Regions from separate parts of the Homo sapiens genome. Here region 1 is linked to region 2. The links are contacts of gene promoters, found by promoter capture Hi-C in human tissues and cell types (Jung and others, 2019). All regions are on one chromosome and are shown on one strand. The core of a region is centred on a gene start or on the middle of the fragment in contact, and the rest is flanking DNA. Distances in the headings are between cores, read along the strand shown.

Region 1 (5,667 bases), core at 455-2,954, 1.4 Mb before region 2:
TGCACTCCAGCCTGGCAATAAGAGCGAGATTCCGTCTCAAAAAAAAAAAAAAAAATTAGCTGGGCATGGTGGCGCATGCCCTATAATCCCAGCTACTTGGGAGGCTGAGGCAGGAGAATTGCTTGAACCCAGGAGGCAGAGGGTGCAGTGAGCTGAGATTGCCCCACTGCACTCTAGCTTGGGCGACAAAGTGAGACTCCATCTCAAAAAAAAAAAAAAAAGAACAACGAAGAAAAAAAGAGAGTTCTTTATATGTTCTGGCTACAAGTCTTTTATCAGATACATGTTTTGCAAAGATCATCTGGCAATCTGCTTGTTTTTTCAATCTCTTATCAATGTCTTTAGCAAAAAGCTTTGCCTAACCCCAAAGTCACAAAGATTTTCTCCTGTTTTCCCCTGGAAGTCTTAGTTTTATGTTTCACATTTTGGTCTATGATCTATTTTGAGTGAATTTTGTGATAAGGTGCAAGGTATAGGTTTAATATTTTTGCACACAGATGTCCAGTTATTCTAGCATCATATGTTGGATGATTGCAGTTATTATTAACACTGTCAGTATTCTCAAGGCTCCTGGGCTCAGGGGTCAGCAATGGTACCTCTGGCTCCAACTCTGCAGTTCAGTCGCCTGCCCCATACGCCCCTCAAACCTAACAGCTGGGGCCTGTTGCAGTTCTTTGCTTGCAGAAGACTTTGTTTCTGGTCTCTTTACCTCTTCTCTCTCTTCCTGAAATCTGCATAAAACAAACCATGAAAGGGCAGGGTGGCCTCGTGGTCTGGCAACGTCCCTTTGAAAATAAACAAGTGCAGAAACTGAAAGGCAGCAGCTACCTCTGGGGACTACTCGAGAAAGAGTTCAGGGCCGGTGCATCCGCCGCGCGTGGCTGTCTTGCCCCAGCTGGGCGGCAGGTCGGATGTGGCAAAACCAAACAGGATCCCGATTGCTTCAGATGTCACCTCTGGCCAGAGACCCCCGATGCCTCTGCAGCAAGCACCTAATTGTATTTATGGGGTACGGGCAGAAGAGTTTCATGGCTGAAAAGCCCTCAACAGTTTGTACAGCCTTCCTCAAAGGTCCAGATCTAACTGGTTCCCACACAACCCTGGGAGGTGGGCAGGTCAGGGACAGTTACCTTTATCTTACACATAAGAAAACTGAGGCACAGAAGGGTGAAGAAATAGATGGGTGTGGGTTTGGAATTTTTTTTTTTTTTTTTTTGAGGCAGAATCTCACTTCATCACCCAGGCTAGAGTGCAGTGACGCAATCTCGCCTCACTGCAACCGCCATCTCCTGGGTTCAAGTGATTCTGGGGCCTCAGCCTCCTGAATAGTTGGGATTACAGGTGCGCACCACCATGCCTGGCCCTAACTTTTTTTTTTTTGAGACAGAGTCTCACTCTTTTTGCCCAGGCTGGAGTGCAGTGGAGCAATCTCAGCTAACTACAACCTCCGCCTCCCAAGTTCAAGCAATTCACCTGCCTCAGCCTCCTAAATAGCTGGGATTACAGGCGCCCACCACCACTCCTGGCTAATTTTTTGTACTTTTAGTAGAGATGGGGTTTCACCATGTTGGCCAGGCTGGTCTCAAAGTCCTGACCTCAGATGATCCACCCACCTTGGCCTCCCAAAGTGCTGGGATCACAGGTGTACCATGCCCGGCCACTCGGCTAACTTTTGTATTTTGGTAGAGACAGAGTTTCACCATGTTGCCCAGGCTGGTTCTCAAACTCCTGACCTCAAGTGATCTGCCTGCCTCAGCCTCCCAAAGTGATGGATTTACAGGCAAAAAGAAGTTTTTTTTTTGTTCGGTGGGGAGGGGGTTAGGCAAACGTTTAGCAAAAAGCTTTCGCTAACCAAAGTCACAAAGATTTTGCCAGGCCATTTTTTTGTTTCGTTTTTTTTTTAGATAAGATCTTGCTCTGTTGCCCAGGCTGGAGTGCAGTGGCACAATTTTGGCTTACTGCACTCTCCAACTCCTGGGCTCAAGCGATCCTCACACCTCAGCCTCCTGGGTAGCTGGGACTAAAGGTGTGTATCACATGCTTGGCTAATTTTTAAATTTTTTTTGGGATGGGGTTTGGCTATGTTGCCCAGGCTGGTCTTGAAATCCTGGCCTCAAGCGATCCTCCAGAATTCATAATTCTCCCCACCACCCTGGCTGGAAATATCTCAAATGTCCAAAGAATGGATAAGCACATTGTGGTACACTCATCCCACGGAATATTCTCCAGCAATGAGAATGAATGACATACAGTCTCACACAGCAGTACTGAATCTCACAAATACCATGTTGAGTGAAAGAAGCTAGACACACAAGAGCACACACTACATCATTCTGTGTATGTAAAGCTAAAAAATAAGCCAAAGAAATCGGTGCAGGTAGAAGTCAGGGTGTCGGCCACACTTCGAGGGGTAGTGACTAGACAGGGATAAGAAGGGGACTGGGGATTAGTGATATTCTGTTTATTGATGCAGATGCAAGTCATGCAGGTGTGTTCAGTGGGTGAAAAATCATTGAGCTACACCCTTACATGTTGATTAAATATTCAGGGCTGGGCACAGTGGCTCATGCCTGTAATCCCTGTAAATGCTTACAGAGGCCAAGGTAGGAGGATCACTTGAAGCCAGGAGTTCAACAGCAGCCTGGGCAACATGGTAAAATCCAGTCTCTACCAAAAAAAAAAAAAAAAAAAAAAAAGGGCCGCGCATGGCGGAATGCACCTGTAGGCTTCCAGCTACTTGGGACCCTCACTCAGGGTCTCACTCTGTCACCCAGGCTGGAGTGCAGTGGCGCCATCAGGGTTCACTGCAGCCTTGACCTCCCAGGCTCAAGTGATTCTCCCACTCAGCCTTTCAAGTTAGCTGGGACCACAGGCCAATTTATGGGCTTACTGGGAAGTAACCCCACTGTAAATTGAAGAGCATCTGTATTCAACTCTGTTGTTGCATGGTGAAAGCAGCCAGGAACAATATGTAAATGAATAAGCATGGCTTGTTCCAATAAAACTTTATTTTAAAAAAATCAGGTGGGCTGGGCATAGTGGCTCAGGCCTGTAATCCCGGCACTTTGGGAGGCCAAGGCGGGCAGATCACCTGAGGTCAGGAGTTCAAGACCAGCCTGGCCAACATGGTGAAACCCCATCTCTACTAAAAATACAAAAATTAGCTGGGCGTGGTGGCAGGCACCTGTAATCCCAGCTACTCAGGAGGCTGAGGCAGGAGAATCGCTTGAGCCCCAGAGGCGGAGGTTGCAGTGAGCCGAGATCATGCCATTGCACTCCAGCCTGGATGACAAGAGCGAGACTTTGTCTCAAAATAAATAAATAAATAAAAATAAAAAAACAGGTAGCCAGATTTGCTGATTCCTGGCCTGCTGGAAGACAGGCTGGGTTCCGAAGCCTCCTTCACTGAGTCCCTGCAGGACCCTGTCCAAGTCGCTTCCCTGGCCTGAGTTATCCTTTCTGTAAATCGGGAGGCTGATTCCCTGCTCTAAACCACCCTTCGGGGTTGCCAGGAGGTCAGATGAGCTCATCACGGAGGGAGCCCAGAGGGAGAAAAGAGCAGGATTAAGAGCCTCTTGAGGTTCTCTGATGCAAAGCAGATTGCTTTTTCTGCCTAGGTCTGGAGAGAGAAAGCCATTGACCTCAAGTCACCCAGTGCATCCATGGGTACCAGTGTCCCAGGGGCATCCTAGAGGGAGACAGGACCCACAGGCTTGGCCGCAGACCCTGGTCCTTGCCATCCCGAGGCCTCTCCCCAACCCCACCTGTGGAGAGAGAACAACAGTGAAGAGAGACTGGAAAACTGAGTCTCTAACAGGCTGTTCCTTTGAGCCCCTGGCCAGAAGCTATTTGGGTCTGTTTTAATGACTGAGCAGCCAGTGCCCAGGGCAGGGACGTGTTGTCTGACCTCCAGCCCTCTGCTCAGTCAGGCACGTCTCTCCTTCCTGTTCCCGGGTGGGCGCATCCCACAAGGCCTGACTCAGGCTGTGCCGCATCTGGAGCATGCTGTGCGGATGACTCCAGTGTCAATCACTTGGGGAAGAGGTGGGTCTTCAGAGAGCAAAGTGTAACTGAGGGCAAACCCAAGGCAACCAGGGGAGGGCCATTCTTCCCTTCCCTGTGCCTCCTGCTCTCGGAACTGGTCTTCTAAAGCTAGAGGTGCGCGAGGATAATAACTATAAAATAGCAGTTAACATTTGAGATTCACTGTGTGCCTGGGCCTGCCTTGAGCGCTTTACACGTATTCATTTAATCCTCACAACAACCCTGGTAGGCATTATTATTGTCCTCATTATACAGATGAGGAAACAGGGACCCAGAGAGGTTAAGATACTTGCCTGAGGTCACACTGCTCAGGAGTGGTGGAGCTCCGCGTGTTGAGGACTACAGAAGAGGATGCCTCATTGGTCCAAAACAGGTCCATATGGAGGAGTGGGGGCTCACGTCGGGTAAGACCCAGTGAAAACTTGCCTAAACCATCAAGGGCATTTATTGGCTCACAAATTGAGACGTTCCGGGGGTTGTGCTGGCTTCAGGGCCGGCTGGGGCCAAGGCCCAAATGCTGCCCTTAGAAAGCACACACTCACCGTCTTTCAGCCCTTTCCTGTGATGGTTTCATTCTCAGGCTGATTCCTCCCCACGTGTAAGGAAAGATGGCCACAGCCACTCCATTTGAGCAACTCCAGATGCTCCAGCAGAATTCTTTCCCACCAGTTCCCACCCAGGGCTGACTCTCACTGGGCTGCTATGGGCCACGTGCTCATCCCTGAGCCAATTGTGGTAGCCAGGAGGCGGGACCATGGTGATTGGATAGGACTGGGTCATATCACCACCCTGGGCTAAGTGCCCGCCCCACTTAAGGACGGGGAGGGAGGGAGACCCCTATGGGAAGAAGAGGGAAACAGAACTGGATAGACAAGGTCAAAGGATGTCTATCTAATCTGAGACTCTGGAGGAAACATGCATTCTTCACCCAGAGGAGCGATAGAGGGAAGTTGGACTTGGCCTTTAGGGTCTGCAGTCCATCCTCGGCCCCACCACGGACCTCTGTGACACTTGTTGCCTTAGCATGGCCTGGAACTTGGACCTGAGCCTTTTCTGCCTACCTCCCCCAGCTGATCCCTTTCCCACCCCACCTCCCTGCCTACTGACCGCCTTCACATTGCCTGGGGCCACATGGGCCCTGTTGCCAACCGCTGGCCCCCCGCTTGGCCTATTGTTCCAGTTCCCTAGTTGCCCGGCTCCCACTTCCAGTCTGGTCTTTTCCAATCCATGCTATTCATTGGCAACACCATCCCTAGTCCAGCAGAGCCTTGGCTCAGAAGCCTCCAGCCCCTCCTTTGTGTCAAAAAGGAAAAACGAGCTGCTTAGCCCCAGGCCTGGTATTCCTCCAGTGTCCTAGGAGATTCCCTGACCCTTGCCATCAGAATGTCTGTATCCCCTAATTCCAAACTGTGGTCGGCATCGTAAAGCACTGCGGCTCACTTACCTGCCTGGGGGTTAAGGGTCAAGTTTGAGTCATCGCTGCCTAGGGCCCAGCACAGCTCAACCAATGCCGGCAAAGCCTACATTTCTAGCTCCTGGGCATGAGACTGCTCCTTGATGAAGGGAGGTGGGAGAGGAAGTTAGGCGGCTCCAGTGAGAGACACAGAGGAAGTTCCACAGAAT
Region 2 (5,783 bases), core at 227-2,726:
TGAAGAGTGAGTCTGTCTCCTGGTTGTCTGGAGGTGGCATACTGCCAATTTGGTAGCCTCTGAACCCAGCATACAGTATCAATCTCCTAGCAAAGAACTTCCTTCTGAAACCTGTTTTCCAATCCCTCCAACAGAAGAAACAAAGATTATAAAGCTGATCTTCCAAAACGGTGGTCTCGGGGCAACCTACATCACAAGCCCCTGGTGCAGAAACCTGGATCCCAGCAAAAAAGCTCAATCTACTATAATCAATTTCGAGTGGGGACTAGGAATCTGCATTTTTAACCAGCTGCCCTGGCAATTCTGACACACACTAACTTTGGGAAGGGAGCAGCTCCGTTAAAAACCACTGTTGCCCAGCAAGTTAAGTCACAATCATTTTCCCCCTAAGCTGGAATTAGAACTCTCAGGATCACCTAGGGGAGGTTGTAAGCATTCTCTGATAGACCATTCGGATTCTTACACTGGTTGACCCAGTTCACACACAGCCACCAGCCTCACGTGCAGGATGGCTTCGATAGAACCACCCTCTGGGGGCGGCCTGCCGATTCTACTTTTAAGCACACATATTCTTCGCTCGAAAAGAGGGCGGGGGAGGAGGCTACAATCAAACTTTCCTGGCCCATTCTCTTCGAAGATTCCTTCCTATTCTGGCTAAGAATCAAGCCCCGCTCCTGCAGAAGGGGCAAGGAAAGCGGCCGATTCCTGGGTCGACGAGAATCTCCCAAGAACTGTCTCGACAGGAGAAGCAGGGGCACCCATGACCTACAACCCGCGAGGCCTGGAGGTAGCAAAAGGCCGCCTTCGTCATTTCTCTCCCAGCTTGGATGGGAGTGAGGGGTTGAGAAAATGCAGGATGAGAAATCCAAATATAACTAACTTCTGGCCAACTCTCTGCCTGTATGACTCTAGGTACCTTGGAGCCAGTGCCAGGCCCTGAGCTCAGAGCGGGCCCCCGAAGAAGCTGCAGAGAGAAACTTCGCTCCAGAGACGCGGCCCCAGGGTCGAAAGGGGCTCGGGGCCCGCAGCCCCCGGCCGGCTGCGCCCAGCACAGCAGGCCCTGGATCCCGCGGCTCGGCAGGGGGACTCTCACCTCGGCCCACCCGGCCTTCCAAAGGGTCCTTGCGGAAGTGGATCCCGTGCACGTCCACATGCGCCTCTCCACCCGCGTTGACCGCCCAAATGACGCTCTCGGGCAGCCCGGCCCCCGCCGCGCCGGCCACGCCGGCCACGCCGAGCCCGGGTCCCCGGATCGCCGGCGGCAGCAGCAGCAGCAGCAGTCGCAGGAGCGCCACAGCGGTTCCCTCAACCGCCCAGGCTCCCAGCATGGCGGCCACCACCACGGGGGCAGCCCCCGCCGACCCTCGTCCTCGGCCGGCTGCCAGGCCACCCCGGACTCAGAAAAACAGCGCCACGGGCCGCTCCGCCTGAGCCGCCGGGGACATGTCGCTCTCAGGCCTCCTTCTTCTCAGCCACGGGTACCGCCTCCCACCTCAGGAACAACCTACCCCGCCGCCCTGCCCCCGGCCACGACGCTGCAGCCAATCAGCGCCCGGCCCTCATTAATTACCCACCACCCCGCCGGGAGGCGCCCGCTCATTGGCTGTCAGGCGCGGGAAAGGGCGTGGCTTCTCCCAGGCGCCGGCCCAGCAGTCGGGCACCAGATGGAGCGCGCGCAGAGGGAGTGAGTTCGGTTGAAGCGGCGGTTCGATGCGGAAGTGGCGGGTGCAGCGCCCAGGCGGCCCCGGAATCCCACAGCTGAATGGGAAAGGTGGCCTGGGGGGGGAAGGTTTAGGGTAGGGCGCACTGACATGTCGCCAGCACTTCCGGTGCTCTAGCTCCTGAGACCAAATAGGCTCTGGAGGGGGCGTGGCCGACTTTCCCGCCCCCTCTTCTTTTCTCAGGGAGCAGCATGAGCATAAATTCTAGTAGGAGAAGCAATGGACACTCTCCAGACCTAAGAGACGCAGTCCTTTTCCCCGCGTGAGGGAGAGGACCCATGCTTTCCCAGAGAGGCCGCGGACACAGGTCTCCAGGGAACGAATCCCATGAGAATAAGGCCCCGCCCCCTCCCCTTAGCGGGCTCGGGGCGGGTGGTAGCGTCCAGACGGCCGTCCAATGAGAAGGCTCCAACGCAGCGGAAACGCGTGGCTTTGAGAGCGAGTGGGTGCCAGGCTGCTCGCGTCTCCATGGCGACGGCCTCTGGCCGGCCTCCGCTGCGTAGGGGCGGGACCGAGGCACCCTAGGCGCTGGCGGGAGTCGCCGCCGGCGGTGCCCAGAGTGGATACCGGGGTTGTCCCGCACGGGCACGGCCCGAACTCCCTCCCTGCTCCTTCACAGTTCACCTGGCGCTCTCCCACACTGGCGATCCCTGCGCTTCGGTCGCTGTTCAAACTCCCATTTTTCCGATGGGGAAACTGAGGCATAGAAAGGGACTGAATTTTGCCAAAGGGTCGCACCGCAAGTGTAGGGCAGAGTCAAGGCAAAAACAAAAAAAACAAAAAAACGCTTATGCATTTTCCATAAATACTGGTCGATTTAGAAATTCTCCCTAAAAGGAAAAAAATGTATCAAGTCCCTGCTACCAGGGTTGTCAGATTTGGCAGATAAAATAGGAGAAGCCCAGTTATATTTGAATTTCAGATAAGCAAATGGGACCCACTTATACTAAAAAAAAAAATGCATTGTTTATTAAAATTTAAACAACTGGACTTCTTGTATTTTATCTACCAATCCTACCTACTACTTAGGCAATGAGCTTTGTGCTACATGAACAAAAAACACACCTGGGGTCCCGCATGAGAATCATAGACTTTGCACAACCCATAATGAAATTAATTGTTTAGTTAGAACAGTGGTAAGTGCTATACGGGAACAAAACAGGGTGCCAAAATAGAGACTATCAGTGGTGGATCTAAATGCACCCAAATTCCTTCCCAGGCCCCAAATTCAGACCCCATGGGGGTAACTTTTGGAAGTGTTCCCTCCCGGTCTCACTTTCCCCCCTATTTTGCAAGCATCTGGCCTTACTTCCTCCCATAGACATGTTTCCTGTCCAAGGTGTTTCTTTTTTTTTTTTTTTCTGTCTTTTTTGGAGACAGAGTCTTGCTCTGTCGCCAGGCTGGAGTGCAGTGGTGCAATCTCGGCTCATGGCAACCTCCACCTCCCGGGTTTAGGCGATTCTGCTGCCTCAGCCTCCTGAGTAGCTGGGACTACAGGCGCGCGCCACCACACCCAACTAGTTTTTTTTATTTTTATTAGAGACCGAGTTTCACCATGTTGGCCAGGATGATCTCGATCTCCTGACCTCGGGGTCCGCGGCCTCCCAAAGTGCTGGGATTACAGGTGTGAGCCACCACACCTGGCCTCTTGGGGTTTCTAATTCTACTATTCTCTCTCTCAAACTGTCATCTTTTAAGGATCTTGACAACTCAGAGGCTTCAGTTACCCTCAAAGGAGGGGTGTGGTGCAAATGGGGAACAGAAACACAAGTAGTGGTGATGGGGCTTCCTCCCTCCAGGCAGTTGGCCTGCAGAGCCCACGTACCACTCAGGTATTGCACTGCCACCAGGCGCTCATGTTTATTTTATCCTCAAGGCAGTCTAGTCCAGGAGAAACAATCACAAAAACGGATTAAATTTTGGGGGAGGCCTCTAAAGGCTTTCTCTCAGTCCTTCGTGTCTTTGGTCACCCCAGAGGGTGAAGAAGATACCCGGCTGGCTCCTGTTATTGAGCCCTTCAGATACCATTCGTGGTTGGGCCATCTGTGTACCAAGGAGCTTGGCTCCCTTTCTGAGATCCAGCTGCTCATGAATTAGGCTGTCTTTTCAGTAAAACGTAAAGTCTGAGACCCTGGAGGCAGGGTATGGGATCCGAGCGTGGGATCTAAGACAGGCTGCCTGCATCCCATGCCTAGTCCCATTTACCCACTGTGTGGCCTTGGGCAAGTGATGTACTTCGCTGAGTTTCAGTTTCCTCAGTTGTGAAATAGAGATACAGTCATGAGTCACTTAATGACAGGGATGCGTTCTGAAAAATGCATCATTAAGCGATTTTGTCATTGTGCAGAGATCACAGAGTGTACTTACACAAACCTAGATGGGGATAGCCTGCTATACACCTAGGCTATATGGTATAGCTGATAGCTCCTACACTACAAACCTCTACAGCATGTTACCTTACTGAATACTGTAGACAGTTGAACACAATGGTAAGTATTTGCGTATCTAAACACAGATACAGTATAAACACAGTATTGGCCAGCCTAGTGGCCCATGCCTGTAATTCCAGCACTTTGGGAGGCTGAGGTGGGTGGATCACTTGAGGCCAGGAGTTCGAGACCAGCCTGACCAACATGGAAAAACCCTGTCTCTACTAAAAATACAAAAATTAGCTGGGCATGGTGGGGCGCACCTGTAATCCCAGCTATTCGGAAGGCCGAGGCAGGAGACTCGCTTGAACCCGGGAGGCAGAGGTTACAGTGAGCCGAGATCGCACCACTGCACTCTAGCCTGGGTGACAGAGTGAGATCCAGTCTCAAAAAAAAAATATATATATATATACACACACACACACACACACACACACACACAAAATTTTATTTATTTATTTATTTATTTATTTATTGTGGAGACAGATTCTCACTATGTTGTCCAGGCTGGCCTCTAACTTGTGGCCTCAAGCGGTCCTCCCGCCTTGACCTTCCAAAGTCCTGGGATTACAGGCCTAAGCCCCTGCACCCAGCCAATATTATAATCTCACGGGACCATCATCGTGTATGTGGTTCGTCATTGGCTGAAATGTTATGTAGCACATGACTGGAATACTTTATTTTACTTATTTATTTTTTGAGACAGAGTCTCACTCTTGCCCAGGCTGGAGTGCAGTGGCATGATCTCGGCTCACTTCAGCCTCTGCCTCCTGGGTTCAAGCAATTCTCGTGTCTCAGCCTCCCAGATAGCTGGGATTATAGGCATGCACCACCATGCCTGGCTAATTTTTGTATTTTTAGTAGAGACAGGGTTTCTCCATGTTGGCCAGCCTGGTCTTGAACTTCTGGCCTCAAGTGATCCACCTGCCTTGGCCTCCCAAAGTGCTGGGATTACAGGTGTGAACAACCGCACCTGGCCTGGAATAGTTTCTATTTCAGAGGGCAGACGTGAGGATTAAAGAAGGTAATAAAACCGCATGAAGAAGAGGAGGAGAAGGTGGTAATGCATATAATAAAGTCATTAGAATTGATAAAGAGCTGAAACAATTGTTTAGATACTCCGAGACCAACCACCATAGCCACATAACCAAAATTTTAGCACCTGATTTTCCAAAATGCTAACTCTAAACATAAACAAAGCACAAGAATAAGTTTTCTTCCCTTATTAGCATGATTCCACAGAATTAAACCAATCAGCCATAGACAAACCAGCTTAAGCAGCTCTATTTGCCTTTGAAAAAATATATATCAGCCAATCATGTAAAGGGTCAAAATACTTCCTCTTGTGCTACAACTGCTGTCAATTCAGACTTCTTGCCAATCTTGTAATCTCCCGATTCACAGACTCTTCCTTTGTATGCACAATCAACTCCTGAAATTTTAACTTGATCTGATTTTATTTTTGACAGATTCATGCCTGGCACAAGCCAAGGCACTCAACCGATTGCTACTCTGAAATGAAAGTCTCGGCCGGGCACGGTGGCTCACGCCTGTAATCCTAGCACTTTGGAAGGCCGAGGTGAGTGGATCACCTGAGGTTGGGAGTTCAAGACCAGCCTGACCAACATGGAGA

Evidence for each region. The method cuts DNA at HindIII sites, captures the fragments that hold promoters and counts their contacts. A contact is called where the count stands out against the background at its distance.
Region 1: a fragment that was not itself captured here is called in contact with the fragment with the promoter of MLEC in region 2 in 1 of the 25 tissues and cell types used here (spleen).

The regions. Positions count from the first base shown.
Region 1 is chr12:122,063,353-122,069,019 of GRCh38, reverse strand. LINC02985 (long intergenic non-protein coding RNA 2985) reads right to left here. Exons shown (of 4, transcript NR_135044.1): 1 at 5,489-5,667; 2 at 4,338-4,470; 3 at 829-992; 4 at 460-731. Among named protein-coding and RNA genes, the nearest start is that of LINC02985, 2.9 kb to the right of the region's middle. RefSeq lists enhancers at 4,293-4,342, 4,483-4,712, 4,663-4,957 and a silencer at 4,753-4,902. The HindIII fragment of the contact is 6,864 bases long and covers 1-5,136 here.
Region 2 is chr12:120,682,842-120,688,624 of GRCh38, reverse strand. MLEC (malectin) reads right to left here and starts at 1,476. Exons shown (of 5, transcript NM_014730.4): 1 at 1,094-1,476. The coding sequence starts at 1,328. It overlaps LOC105370029 (a long non-coding RNA gene), which reads left to right and starts at 1,476. Exons shown (of 3, transcript XR_945449.3): 1 at 1,476-1,771; 2 at 5,620-5,729. RefSeq lists silencers at 1,118-1,417, 2,258-2,357, 3,472-3,561 and enhancers at 1,172-1,673, 1,768-1,897, 1,988-2,097. The HindIII fragment of the contact is 30,224 bases long and covers 1-5,783 here.